Linked DNA regions of Homo sapiens: all the other regions are linked to region 3. The links are contacts of gene promoters, found by promoter capture Hi-C in blood cells and fetal thymus (Javierre and others, 2016). All regions are on one chromosome and are shown on one strand. The core of a region is centred on a gene start or on the middle of the fragment in contact, and the rest is flanking DNA. Distances in the headings are between cores, read along the strand shown. Region 1 has its middle 2.8 kb from the start of TAF1B. Region 2 overlaps LOC105373421 (a long non-coding RNA gene). Region 3 holds the start of ADAM17 (ADAM metallopeptidase domain 17).

Evidence for each region. The method cuts DNA at HindIII sites, captures the fragments that hold promoters and counts their contacts. A CHiCAGO score of 5 or more calls a contact.
Region 1: a fragment that was not itself captured here is called in contact with the fragment with the promoter of ADAM17 in region 3 in 1 of 17 cell types (activated CD4 T cells); the score reaches 5.1 in activated CD4 T cells.
Region 2: a fragment that was not itself captured here is called in contact with the fragment with the promoter of ADAM17 in region 3 in 1 of 17 cell types (activated CD4 T cells); the score reaches 6.0 in activated CD4 T cells.

Annotation. Positions count from the first base shown.
Region 1 is chr2:9,838,759-9,842,666 of GRCh38, forward strand. No RefSeq gene overlaps it. Among named protein-coding and RNA genes, the nearest start is that of TAF1B, 2.8 kb to the right of the region's middle. The HindIII fragment of the contact is 2,580 bases long and covers 1,053-3,632 here.
Region 2 is chr2:9,810,443-9,814,086 of GRCh38, forward strand. All of the region lies in intron 1 of LOC105373421 (a long non-coding RNA gene), which reads right to left. Among named protein-coding and RNA genes, the nearest start is that of TAF1B, 31 kb to the right of the region's middle. The HindIII fragment of the contact is 2,463 bases long and covers 1,063-3,525 here.
Region 3 is chr2:9,553,222-9,557,186 of GRCh38, forward strand. It overlaps ADAM17 (ADAM metallopeptidase domain 17), which reads right to left and starts at 2,609. Exons shown (of 19, transcript NM_003183.6): 1 at 2,288-2,609. The coding sequence starts at 2,384. RefSeq lists silencers at 1,619-1,913, 2,528-2,817, 3,048-3,267, 3,239-3,533. The HindIII fragment of the contact is 10,331 bases long and covers 1-3,965 here.

The DNA of each region.
Region 1 (3,908 bases), core at 1,093-3,592, 290 kb after region 3:
CAGCCCTCCCCACTCCCACTCTCAACTGATGACTTGCTTCCATTTCAATGAAGCTCAGAGAACAGACCTTCCACCTCATGCACCTGCGCTGTCCCACGTGCTCTCCCTTCTTTCCTGGTTCTGCAGCAGATGAACCCTCTATGCTAGGGCTGACCCCTCCATGGTGCTGCAGATCCTCTCCCTTCTCACGCACTGCATTAGTCTGTTTTCACACTGCTGATAAAGACATACCCGAGACCGGGCAATTTACAAAAGGAGGAGGTTCAAATGGACTTATTCAGTTCCATGTGGCTGGGGAAGCCTCACAATCATGGTGGAAGGCAAGGCCTTGACCTCCTAAAATCCTGGGATTATAGGCATGAGCCACCAAGCCTGATCTAATTTGTACTTGTCTGATAAGTAATGACGTTGCGTACATTTTCATATATTTATTGACCATTTAGCTGTTATCTTTTATGAAATACCTGTTCAAATCTTTTTGCCTATTTTTAACTGGATTGTTTATTATTTCTTAATAGATCGGTAGGAAACCTTTGTTACATGTCTTGTCGAATATGTATTGTGAATTTCTTCTCTCAGTTTTTAGTTTGCTTTAATTATGTCTTTTTTTTTTTAATTTTTTTTAAAGACAGGGTCTCTGTCACCCAGGCTGGAGGGAAGTGTCATGATCACAGCTCACTGCAGCCTTGACTTCCCGGGCTGAAGCAATCCCCCCGACCCAGCCTCCTGAGTAGCTGGAACTACAGGCATGCCCACCACACCCAACTAAGTTTTAAAAAAATTTTGTAGAGATAGGATCTCTCTATGTTGCCCAGGCTGATCTTGAACTTCTGGGCTGAAGCAATCCTCCCACCTCGGCCTCTGAAAGTGCTAGGTTCTAGGCGTGAGCCACTGTGCTCAGCCTAACAATGTCTTCTGATGAATCGAAGTTCTTAATTTAATGAAATCCAGTGTAATGACCTTTTCTCTTAGGAGTAGTGCTTTTTGTGCCCTGTTGATGAAGTCTATTCCACACCAAATCATAAAGATATTTACCACTTTTTTTTTCTAGAAGCTTTATGGTTTTACCTATCACATGTAGGATCTATTTGAATTAATTTTTGTGTACAGTGTGAGAAAGGGGTCAATAATTTTCTCATATGCATGTCTGATTGATTCAGAACCATTTATTGAAAAACTATTCTTTCAGCTCACGCCTATAATCCCAGCACTTTGGGAGGCCGAGGTGGGTGGATCACTAGAGGCTATGAGTTCGAGACCAGCCTGGCCAACATGGCAAAATTCCATCTCTACTAAAAAATACAAAATTAGCCAGGTGTCATGGCACATGCCTGTAGTCCCAGCTACCTCTACTTGGGAAGCTAAGGCCCGAGAATTGCTTGAACCTGAGTGGCAGAGGTTGCAGTGAGCCGCGATTGTGCCATTGCACTCCAGCCTGGGCAACAGAGCAAGACTCTATCTCAAAAAAGAAACAAAGAAAAAGGAGAAAAGCTATTCTTTCCTCACTGAATTTTAGTAGCAGCTTTGTTGTAAATCAGATTATTTTATATGTACTTATGAGTCCGTTTCTGGACTTTCTATTCAGTTCTGTCAATTTTTTGGTCTATCCTTGCATCACACTAGATTACTGTATGATTTATTTTTTTCTCTTTTATTTATTTTTTAAATCTTTATTCTTTTTTCTCTACTTTTTCTTTTAACATTTTTTAATTTTGAGAAAAGGTCTTGCTTTGTCATGTAGGCTGGAATGCAGTGGCGTGACCACAGCTCACTGCAGCCTCAACCGATCCTCCCACCTCAGTCTCCTAGGTACCTGGGACTATTGGACTGTGCCACCACACCCAGCTAATTTTTTAATTTTTTGCAGAAATGAGGTCTCATTATGTTTCCCAGGCTGATCTCAAACTCCTGGGCTTAAGTGTTCTGTCCACCTTGGCCTTCCAAAATGCTGAGATTACAGGCTCGATGTTAAACAAACTTGCATTCCTAGAATAAACCTAACTTGGCTGTGATTTATTATCCTATTTATATATTGCTGAGTACAACAGGATGTACATTCAATTTACTGATGTTTTGTTTGGAACTTTTGCATGTATGTTTATGAGAGGAATTGCTTTTTAATTTTGACTTTTCTTGAAATATCCTTGTCAAGTTTTGGTGTCAAGGTCATGCTTGTCTCCTAAAATGTACTGGTAAATGCTCTTCTTTTTTCATTATTTGGAAGCATCTGTATAAGATGGGTGTTATTTATTTCTTTTTAAAATTATTATTATTATTGAGACAGAGTCTCTCTCTATCAACCAGGCTGGAGTGCAATGGCATGATCTTGGCCCACTGCAACCTCTGCCTCCCAGGTTCAAGCAATTCTTGTGCCTCAGCCTCCCAGGTAGCTAGGATTACAGGCGTGCAACACCATGCCCAGCTAATTTTTGTATTTTTAGTAGAGACGAGGTTTTGTCATGTTGGTCAGGCTGGTCTCGAACTCCTGGCCTCAAATATTCTCCTGCCTCAGCCTCCTAAAGTGGTGGGATTACAGGCGTGAGCCACCATGACTGGCCTATTTCTTTCTTAAAAATTTGGTAGAATTTGGCCAGGCGTGGTGGCTCATGCCTGTAACCCCAGTACTTTGGGAGGCCGAGGTGGGCAGGTCAGGAGTTCAAGATCAGCCTGGCCAATATGGTGAAACTCCATCTCTACTAAAAATACAAAACTTAGCCAGGTGTGGTGGTAGGCGCCTGTAGTCCCAGCTATTTAGGAGGCTGAGGCAGGAGAATTGCTTGAACCTGGGAAGCGGAGGTTGCAGTGGGCTGAGATGGTGCCACTGCACTCCAGACTGGGTGAAAGAGCAAGACTGTCTTAAAAAAAAAAATTGGTGGAATTTTCACATTTATTGGCCTAGAGTTGTTCAGAATATGCCCTTATGATCTTTTTAATGTCTGTGGTATTTGCAGTGATGCCCCTACATATTGGTTAGTGATGCCACTGATATCAGTTTATTTTGATTTTCTTTGCTCCGTTGCTCAGACTGGAGCACAGTGGCCCGATTATAGCTCACTGCAGCCTTGAGCTCAAGCAAACCTCCCGTCTCATCCTCCCAAGTAGCTAGGACTGTAGGTGTGCATCACCAAGCTGGGCTCTTTTCTTTTTGATCAATCTTTCCAGAGTTTATCGAATGTATTAGTATTTTCAAAGAGCTAATGTTAGTTGGTTGAGACTCTCTTCTTAAAAAATATCTTTTAGGCTGGGCGTGGTGGCTCACGCCTGTAATCCTAGCACTTTGGGAGGCCGAGGTGGGCAGATCACTTGAGGTCAGGAGTTCGAGATCAGCCCAGCCAACCTGGTGAAACCCCGTCTCTACTAAAAATACAAAAATTCGCCAGGCGTCGTGGCGCGTGCCTATAATCCCAGCTACTTGGGAGGCTGAGGCAGGAGAATTGCTTGAACCTGGGAGGTGGAGGCTGCACTGAGCTGAGATTGAACCATTGTACTCCAGCCTATAGAGATGAGGACTCAATATGTTGGGCAGGCTGGTCTCCAACTCCCGCCCTCCAGCAATCTGCCCGCCTTCGCCTCCCACAGTGATGGGATTACAGGCACCAGCCACCACAGCAAGCCTTTGTGGAGCCTATCGAAGCTTGCTTTCTCTTTTATTAATTTCTCTTTTTTAAACATTTCCTTCATCCCATTATTTTTCAGTTTAATCTTTTTTCTAACTTCTTGGGATGTACGATTATATCAAAAATCCTCTTCTCAATGAGATCTCTCTTGAACATCACATTTCAGACTGAAATCACCTTGTTGTTCCCATTCTCCTCTCCTCTTTATTTTTCTCCTTGGAACTCACCACCACTTAACATACCACATATTTTCCTTATTTATTTTTGTCTCTCCCCATCAGAATACAATCT
Region 2 (3,644 bases), core at 1,044-3,543, 260 kb after region 3:
GTGCTCTCTCTCTCTTCCCCTTTCCTCATCTCCCCTCATCATGCACTTATGGTAAAAAACAAAACAGGCCGGGCGCGTTGTCTCACGCCTATAATCCCAGCACTTTGGGAGGCCAAGGCGGGCAGATCACGAGGTCAGGAGACCATCCTGACCAACATGATGAAACCCCGTCTCTACTAAAAATACAAAAATTTGCTGGGCATGGTGGCACATGCCTGTAATCCCAGCTACTGGGGAGGCTGAGGCAGGAGAATCGCTTGAACCCAGGAGACGGGGGTTGCAGTGAGCCGAGATTGTGCCATTGCACTCCAGCCTGGCGACAGAGCAAGACTCCAAAAAAAAAAACAAAACCCTAACCTGATCAATAAGCCAAAAAAGAACTGAATTCTCACGTGGACTCCCCTACGTATACCTATCCTATACCTATGAGGTATGACCTTAGCAGATTAACCTCTCGATTTCCTCTTCTGTTAACTATGCATACTTCACTGGGTTGTTGTTTGCTTGTTTGTTTGTTTGTTTTTATGAGATGGGGTCTCGCTCTGTCGGCCAGGCTAGCGTGCAGTGGTGTGATCTCCGCTCACTGCAACCTCCGCCTCCTGAGTTCAAACATTTCTCCAGCCTCAGCCTCCCGAGTAGCTGGGATTACAGGCACGTGCACCACGCCTGGCTGATTTTTGTATTTTTAGTAGAGATGGGGTTTCATTATGTTGGCCAAGCTGCCCTAGAACTCCTGACCTCAGGTTATCCACCTGCCTCAGCCTCCCAAAGTGCTGGGATTACAGGCCTGAGCCATCGTGCCTAGCCTGGATTTTTATGAGAACTACATGAATCCAGGTTGGTTTATACTTTTCTAATTGGGGAGAAATTCCCTTGAGAAAATTCAGAAACACATTGAAGATTTTGGAGCCACAGGATAAACACGTTTCTTCATGTTGAAGTGGCAAAGATTTGAAGAAATCATACTGTATTTCCTGTTAAAGCAAACATGACTCAGAATAGAGAATAATGCAGAAATGCAAGAATTTTTAAGCTAAAACTCAGGACTGGAAAGAAACGTCAAGCTTGGAACTCGTAGTGCCAGGCTCTGCCCCTCATCTCACCAAAGCTCAGTTTCTCCCCCGTTCAGGGTTGAATTGTGCCCCCCAAAAAGAGATGTTTTTGTCCTGACCCCAGTACTTGTGAAGGTGAACCTATTTGGAAACTGAATCTTTGCAGAGTAATCAAGTTCAGATGAGGCCATTAGGACGGACTGTCATCCAATACAACTGTCCTTATAAGAGGAAGACAATGGTACATGAGGACAGTGACACACAGGGAGACGCCTCGTGGGGACAGGCAGAGGCCGAGGCACTGCCGCTGCAGGCCAGGACACCGGGGGCTCCCGGCCAGGCCAGCGGCTGGAAAGGCAGGCAGGATTCTGCCCAGAATATCAGAGGGCCTGGCCCTGCCCCTGTCTTGATTTTGGACCTCCTGGCTCCCAAACTGTGAGGGAGTAAATGGCGGAGTCTCAGCCACCCCAGTCTGTGCTCTGTGGCAGTGGCGCAGTATCACACACTCCCTGACTGGGAAAAGGGTGGGAAGTCCTGCAGCTGGCCAGAGAGAACCGGCAGACCCGTTTCAGTCCTGTTATCCTGCCCCGGCGGCCGGGCCAGTTCCCCCCGGGAGCCCCGGTGTCCCCCTCCTGTGTGTCCTGCTGGTTCCCGGCAGATGCTCCGGGCGCCACTGCTCTGTTAGCCGCTGTTGGCCTCCTCCTGTCACATGTTTATGCTTGTAGTAGCAGAATCCAAATCCGGGCCATTATCGCAGGTGGCGGGCCTTAACCTGGCAAGCCTGTGAACCCTTCCCAGTGCTGCCCTGGAGAAGGGCTGGCCGCTCAGGCCCTCACAGCCTGAGAGCTCGGAGAAGCTGCCCCCAGACTCTCAGGGCCCTGTGCCTGCCCCAGCCACTTGGGCCTGAAATTAGCGAGGGGCCACACATAGGGGCCCAGACCAGACCCCAGAGAAGTCCCCTGCCCCTGACTTTCCACACATGGCAGCAGTGAGGTGTCTGCTCCCTGGCTAGGGCAGCATTGTTGAGCCCCCACTGGAGCTGGGCGTCTCCCTGCTCTCAAACAAACCAACTGTGCACAGTGGGGCAGGGACGGTTTCCTAGAGGAAGTGGGGCTTAGGCTGACTCAGGGAAGGGCAGTTTCACTGATAGGATCTGTTTACCCGCCTGACTTCTCCAGCATCACCATAAGCTCACAGGGCTGGAACGGATTCAGGTCGCCCAGGCCCAGGGCATGGGAATTGGAAAACGTTTGTTGAGGTGAATCAAAGCTAGATGGAAGGCCAGGCACGGTGGCTCATGCCTGTAATCCCAGCACTTTGGGACACAGAGGTGGGCGGATCACTTGAGGTCAGGAGTTCGAGACCAGCCTGGCCAACATGGTGAAACCCCGTCTCTACTAAAAATACAAAAACTAGCTGGGCGTGGTGGCGGGCACTTGTAATTCCAACTACTCAGGAGACTGAGGCAGGAGAATCACTTGAACCCGGGAGGCAGAGGTTGCGGTGAGCCCAGATGGCACCATTGCACTCCAGCCTGGGCGACAAGAGTGAAACTCCATCTCAGAAAAAGGAAGAAGAAGAAGAGGAAGAGGAGGAAGACGAGGAGGAAGAGGAAGAAGAAGAAGAAGAAAGAAGAAGCTGAAGAAGCTGGTTGGGAAGAAAGGGAATGCGATTCTATGAGGCTGGAGCCAAGACGAGCTGAAGAAGCTGGTTGGGAAGAAAGGGAAGGCGATTCTATGAGGCTGGAGCCAAGACGAGCACTGGAGCAGAGGTTCAGCACAGCGTCCAGGGAACAGACAGTGCTGTGGGGGGAGCGTGGGGGAGGAGGGGGTGGCAAGGACCCCTGTCCACCATCCTGGTGGGGGCCCAAAGGTGCTTTCAGTGTCCTATCACTGCCATGGCTGCTGGCAGAAAGTCCTGGCAATGATCTCGCACGTCTGGGGCTCAGGAAGGGAAGCCCACCCGCCCACAGGAAAGGGATGCCTGAGTGGCCTGGCCAAACTCTGCCCACATCTCCTCTCTGGCAGGACGCATGCTACCCAGGCCCAGTCCCGATCCCAGGACAGCACCCACAGGAAGGCTGCCAGTGGTTCTCCTGGAAGCAAAGACTCCAGCTGCCTGGCTTCTCCCTTCCCCAGGGACGCCTCCATCCCAAGCTCTGGCCAACAGGCTGCCCAGGCTCCCTGGGAACCCCTGGGTGCCGTGGCGAGTGGGGGCTGTGGTCTCACCCCCGGGCACGCCCTTCCTCCAAAGGCCTGGCCAGTCCCAGTGCATCCTGTGCTGAAACTCCCAGGGGATGGGGTTGGGACAGCCCAGCAGGTTCCAGAATGCTCTCTCCTCTGTCCACCCTGAGTTAGAAGTCTGTGTGGAGGCCCAAAGGTACTTTAAGTGCCCCAGCACTGCCATGGCCTGGGAAGCCAGGACACACAGGCTGAAAGAGTGAGGTCTTCCCATCAGAGACCCTGAGCCCCGAAGCTTTGGAATCAGCAGCGTTCAGCGCGATGGAGGCGCGGTGCCACCAGGTGGCGCCGTCAACCCCTCACTTAGGGCTAAGCGCCCTGGCCCCTCTGGATGAACCAGCAAGGGCGGAGG
Region 3 (3,965 bases), core at 1,359-3,858:
TAACGTACTCTAGCACTCTCCTCTATGCTGTTTTAGAAGTGTCCTAAATGAATGTCTATTTCCCTATGCTATAACCATTTGAAGATGGATATCGTCTGATCTTTGTATTTCCAATGCCACGTATAATACTTGTGTGTCCTTCAAATATTTCGTTTAAAAAAAAAAAAAGAGGCCGGGCCTGGTGGCTCAAGCCTTTAATCCCAGCACTTTGGGAGGCCGAGGTGTGCTGATCACCTGAGGTCAGGAGTTCGAGACCAGCCTGAATAACATGGAGAAACCCCATCTCTACTAAAAATACAAAAAATTAGCCGGACGTGGTGGCACATGCCTGTAATCCCAGCTACTTGGGAGGCTGAGGCAGGAGAATTGCTTGAACCCGGGAGGCGGAGGTTGTGGTGAGCTGAGATGACGCCATTGCACTCCAGCCTGGGCAACAAGAGCAAAACACTGCCTCAAAAAAAAAAAAAAAGAAAGAAAAAGAAAAGAAAAGAAAAAAGAAAAGTCTATGCATTCTTCTGGCACAGGTGGTCTGCATTTTGCAAATAAAAAACAAACACATGGGCCAGGAGCGGTGGTTCATGCCTGTAATCCCAGCACTTAGGGAGGCCCAGGTGGGCGGATCACGAGGTCAAGAGTTCTAGACCAGCCTGGCCAACATGGTGAAACCCCGTCTCTACTAGGAATACAAAAATTAGCTGGGCGTGGTGGCACATGCCTGTAATCCCAGCTACTCAGGAGGCTAAGGCAGGTGAACTGCTTGAACCCCGGGAGGCGGAGGTTGCAGTGAGCTGAGATCGCGCCACTGCACTCCAGCCTGGGCAACAGAGCAAGACTCTGTCTTGGAAAAAAAAAATGGTCTAAAAAACCTTACGATCTGCAAATGTTATGAATTGATCTAGAAAGTAATGTTTCTCTTTAAACTGTATGCTTCCTTGGGACTCATGCTTATTTTTACCTACGAACAACAGATTAATAACATAAGTGAAACAGTTGTGTCAGGGTGGTGCAAATATAATTTTAATATCTCAAAATACATATTTATTCTTTTTACTAACATTTATCCTTAAAATGAAGACCCTTACCCTATCCCTCCATCCTAACCACAATCCTACCTCAAAATGTCCTTCAATTTGTACTGACTTACCACTTCTCAGCACTTCCTAACAAGATCCCTTGCCTTTCATTAGTCACTTGTAATCCATTTCAATCGGAAAGAATCATAAGACAGCTGTTCAAGTGATAACACTCTCAACACCTTTAGTATCCATACCAATCCATTACAATTTCTGTCCACTAAATATAAAGAAAAAAAATACTACACATGGTATCATGGTGAAATTTGGGAACCAGTACAACCATGCAAGCCTACAATTTCACACACTGGGAAAACATTATTTCACACTTTATTACTAATTAAAGTATCTTACACGTCAATTTTTGAAAGATAAAAGGATTTTAAAATACACTAAAAGTTCACGCAAACTTACTTCCACCAAAGTTCAGATCCCTTAATGCATCTCCATCCTTAAAATCCAATCTCTCTGGAAAATCTAATGAAATAGGAACCCTCTACTTTCTAGCCTCTAAATTCATCAAACTCGTCACTCTTGATAATTTCTTTGTTTAAAAGTGCAAGGAAAGCATTCATAGTGGCAGCATCACGAGTTGGCTTACCAGGTTTCCGCCTCCCCCCATCTCCCAAGCACCTCCAATAAGCTACAATTGAAATAACCAAGAACGTGCTTAGGATGTTCGCAAAAACACAACTCTTAAGACTCCAACTCCAGTCTCCGCCTCCCAACGAGATTACTGCATAAGTACCTCCTACAGCAGAAATTCTAGTTCCCTCCTTCGAGGACCAGGAAGAATTCTGGAGCTTTGGGCCCTTCCTTTCTGGCTCTGGTAGGAACACACAACACTAGATTTGTTCCCTACTAAGGCAAGAACCCTGACCACATCTCCCTCTCCAAACAAGATCCAGCCACCCTACTCCTTACCGCTTTCCCAACACCCTCCCCGAACACAAAGCTAGGGAGCAAACCCCTCTCAGGCGCTCAGTCACTACATGGAGCCCGTCCAGTAGCCCTTTCCCACTCAGAGACAGGCCCATCTCCTTTATTCTTTCCCCAAACTCCGAGAGCCACACCCCCTTCTACACTGAAAACTTAGGGACGCGCCACCATCGCCAATACCCCGCCCCCAAACACCTGATAGACCCAGCTCCCCTGCTCTTCCCTCAAACGAGCGCTCCAGGCGCCGGCCTAAGCCAACTCCCCTGGGTCTTTACCGAGTCTCTGGTGGGGGCCGAAGCCCGGGTCATCCGGAGGTCGCGGCGCCAGCACGAAAGGAACCACGCTGGTCAGGAATAGGAGAGACTGCCTCATGTTCCCGGCCCCGCTACCGACTCCACCTCTCTGGGCAGCCTTCGCCTGACGGGGTTTCGGAAAACTGCTCACATCGGGGGAGGACGGGATCCGCCCGGCCTAGCCCCTCAATCCTCTTTTCCCTCCCGCGCCGCCTACTGGGAAGATTCTACCGCCAGGCTCGACGCCCCCAGAAGTGCAGGTGGCGTTACCAAAGGCCGGCTCAGCCAGCTTCCGGCCGCCGCTGTCCCCCGCACCACCCACAGCCGGAAGCCGGCTGCCGCGCGGCATCCCGGGAGGCTCCGCTTGCCCCGCCCCACGCCGGTGCGCCGCGGGCCTCTGGTCCGCTGCCGTGTTCGGCCCCGCCCGTCACGTCTAGCTGGGGCTCGCCCGGCGCCTTCCTGGACGCAGACGTATGAGTCCCAACTCCACCCAGTCCGGCCTGGCCTCTGTCCCCGGGTGACCGCGGAATGGGGGGGCGGGAGCTAGCGAGCAGGCCCTCAAGCGCGTCTGGCCGCCTCCTTTGTCTTGATGCCCACGTCTGGTTAGGACCCCTGCTGTCCATTTTATTAAAGGAGCTGTAGAAAGCGGCCTGGGGCCCAGCGACCTGCCCAGGGCGGACGAGGAGGCGCGACTGGCCCGATGCCGCAGGCTCTCTGCCCAGTGTGCTCAGGTGGGAGGGCGGGGACATGAATCGAGCCACAGAGTGCCCTGGGCACGGACCCCCCGCCCCCCCCGGCCCCGGGCCCCGAGCCCCGAGCCCCGAGCCCGGCCACCGAAGCCCGTGCCACTCGCCAGCTCCTGCGAGACGAGCCTTTCGAGCGCAGCTCAGGCATTTGGTTCAGGGTCCTACTGCCGGAGTCGTCTGAGGCCTCCATCCGTCTGTCGTCACGAAAAAGGTTTTGGGGGGACTAATAAGCACTTCCTGAATGCACATTTGCTCCACGCCCCTGCTGTAGGGAGAGGGTCTGCAGACACTTCAACAAATAGAATCCTAGGACCTTACCTGTGAGTACAAGAGCTGGAATCTTCCCACCAACTTCTTAAAATTCAATCCTATACTTGGTCCATTTAGCTTAGACTGGAAATTTCCCAAGGCAGTTTGTTTTGCAATCTTTTGCATGATTTTAGCTCTGTATAGTTTAGTGAATGTTTATGGTACTGAATAAAACAGTCTAAAAACGTTGGGTACATGTTGCTGTTTTATTTAGTTCAACCAAAGTTTATAAAAGTAGGACATAATACGTTTTCCACTTAAGAGTGAGACAGCCTTTATTATGAAACGGTAAATTGTTAGGAATACTAGTCCTATTCAAGTTTCAAGGCTTATTCCTAATAAAATACTCAAACTGTGGTTAAAATTTATGTTAATGGTGGTTTGCCGCAGTAAAATATCAGCGTCTTTTTCAACAATACATTGTTGGCTAAAATTAACCGGACCTGGTCTGTACATCTGAAGTATAAAATATCTTTATTAAACATACCCATTAGTGGCATACCTAGTCAAAAAGTAAGCAGAATTTCACATGCAAATTGTATACAATCTGTAAAAATTGTATTCCATAAGAATGTGACAGTTGAGTACGGTTTTTGGGGGGCTTT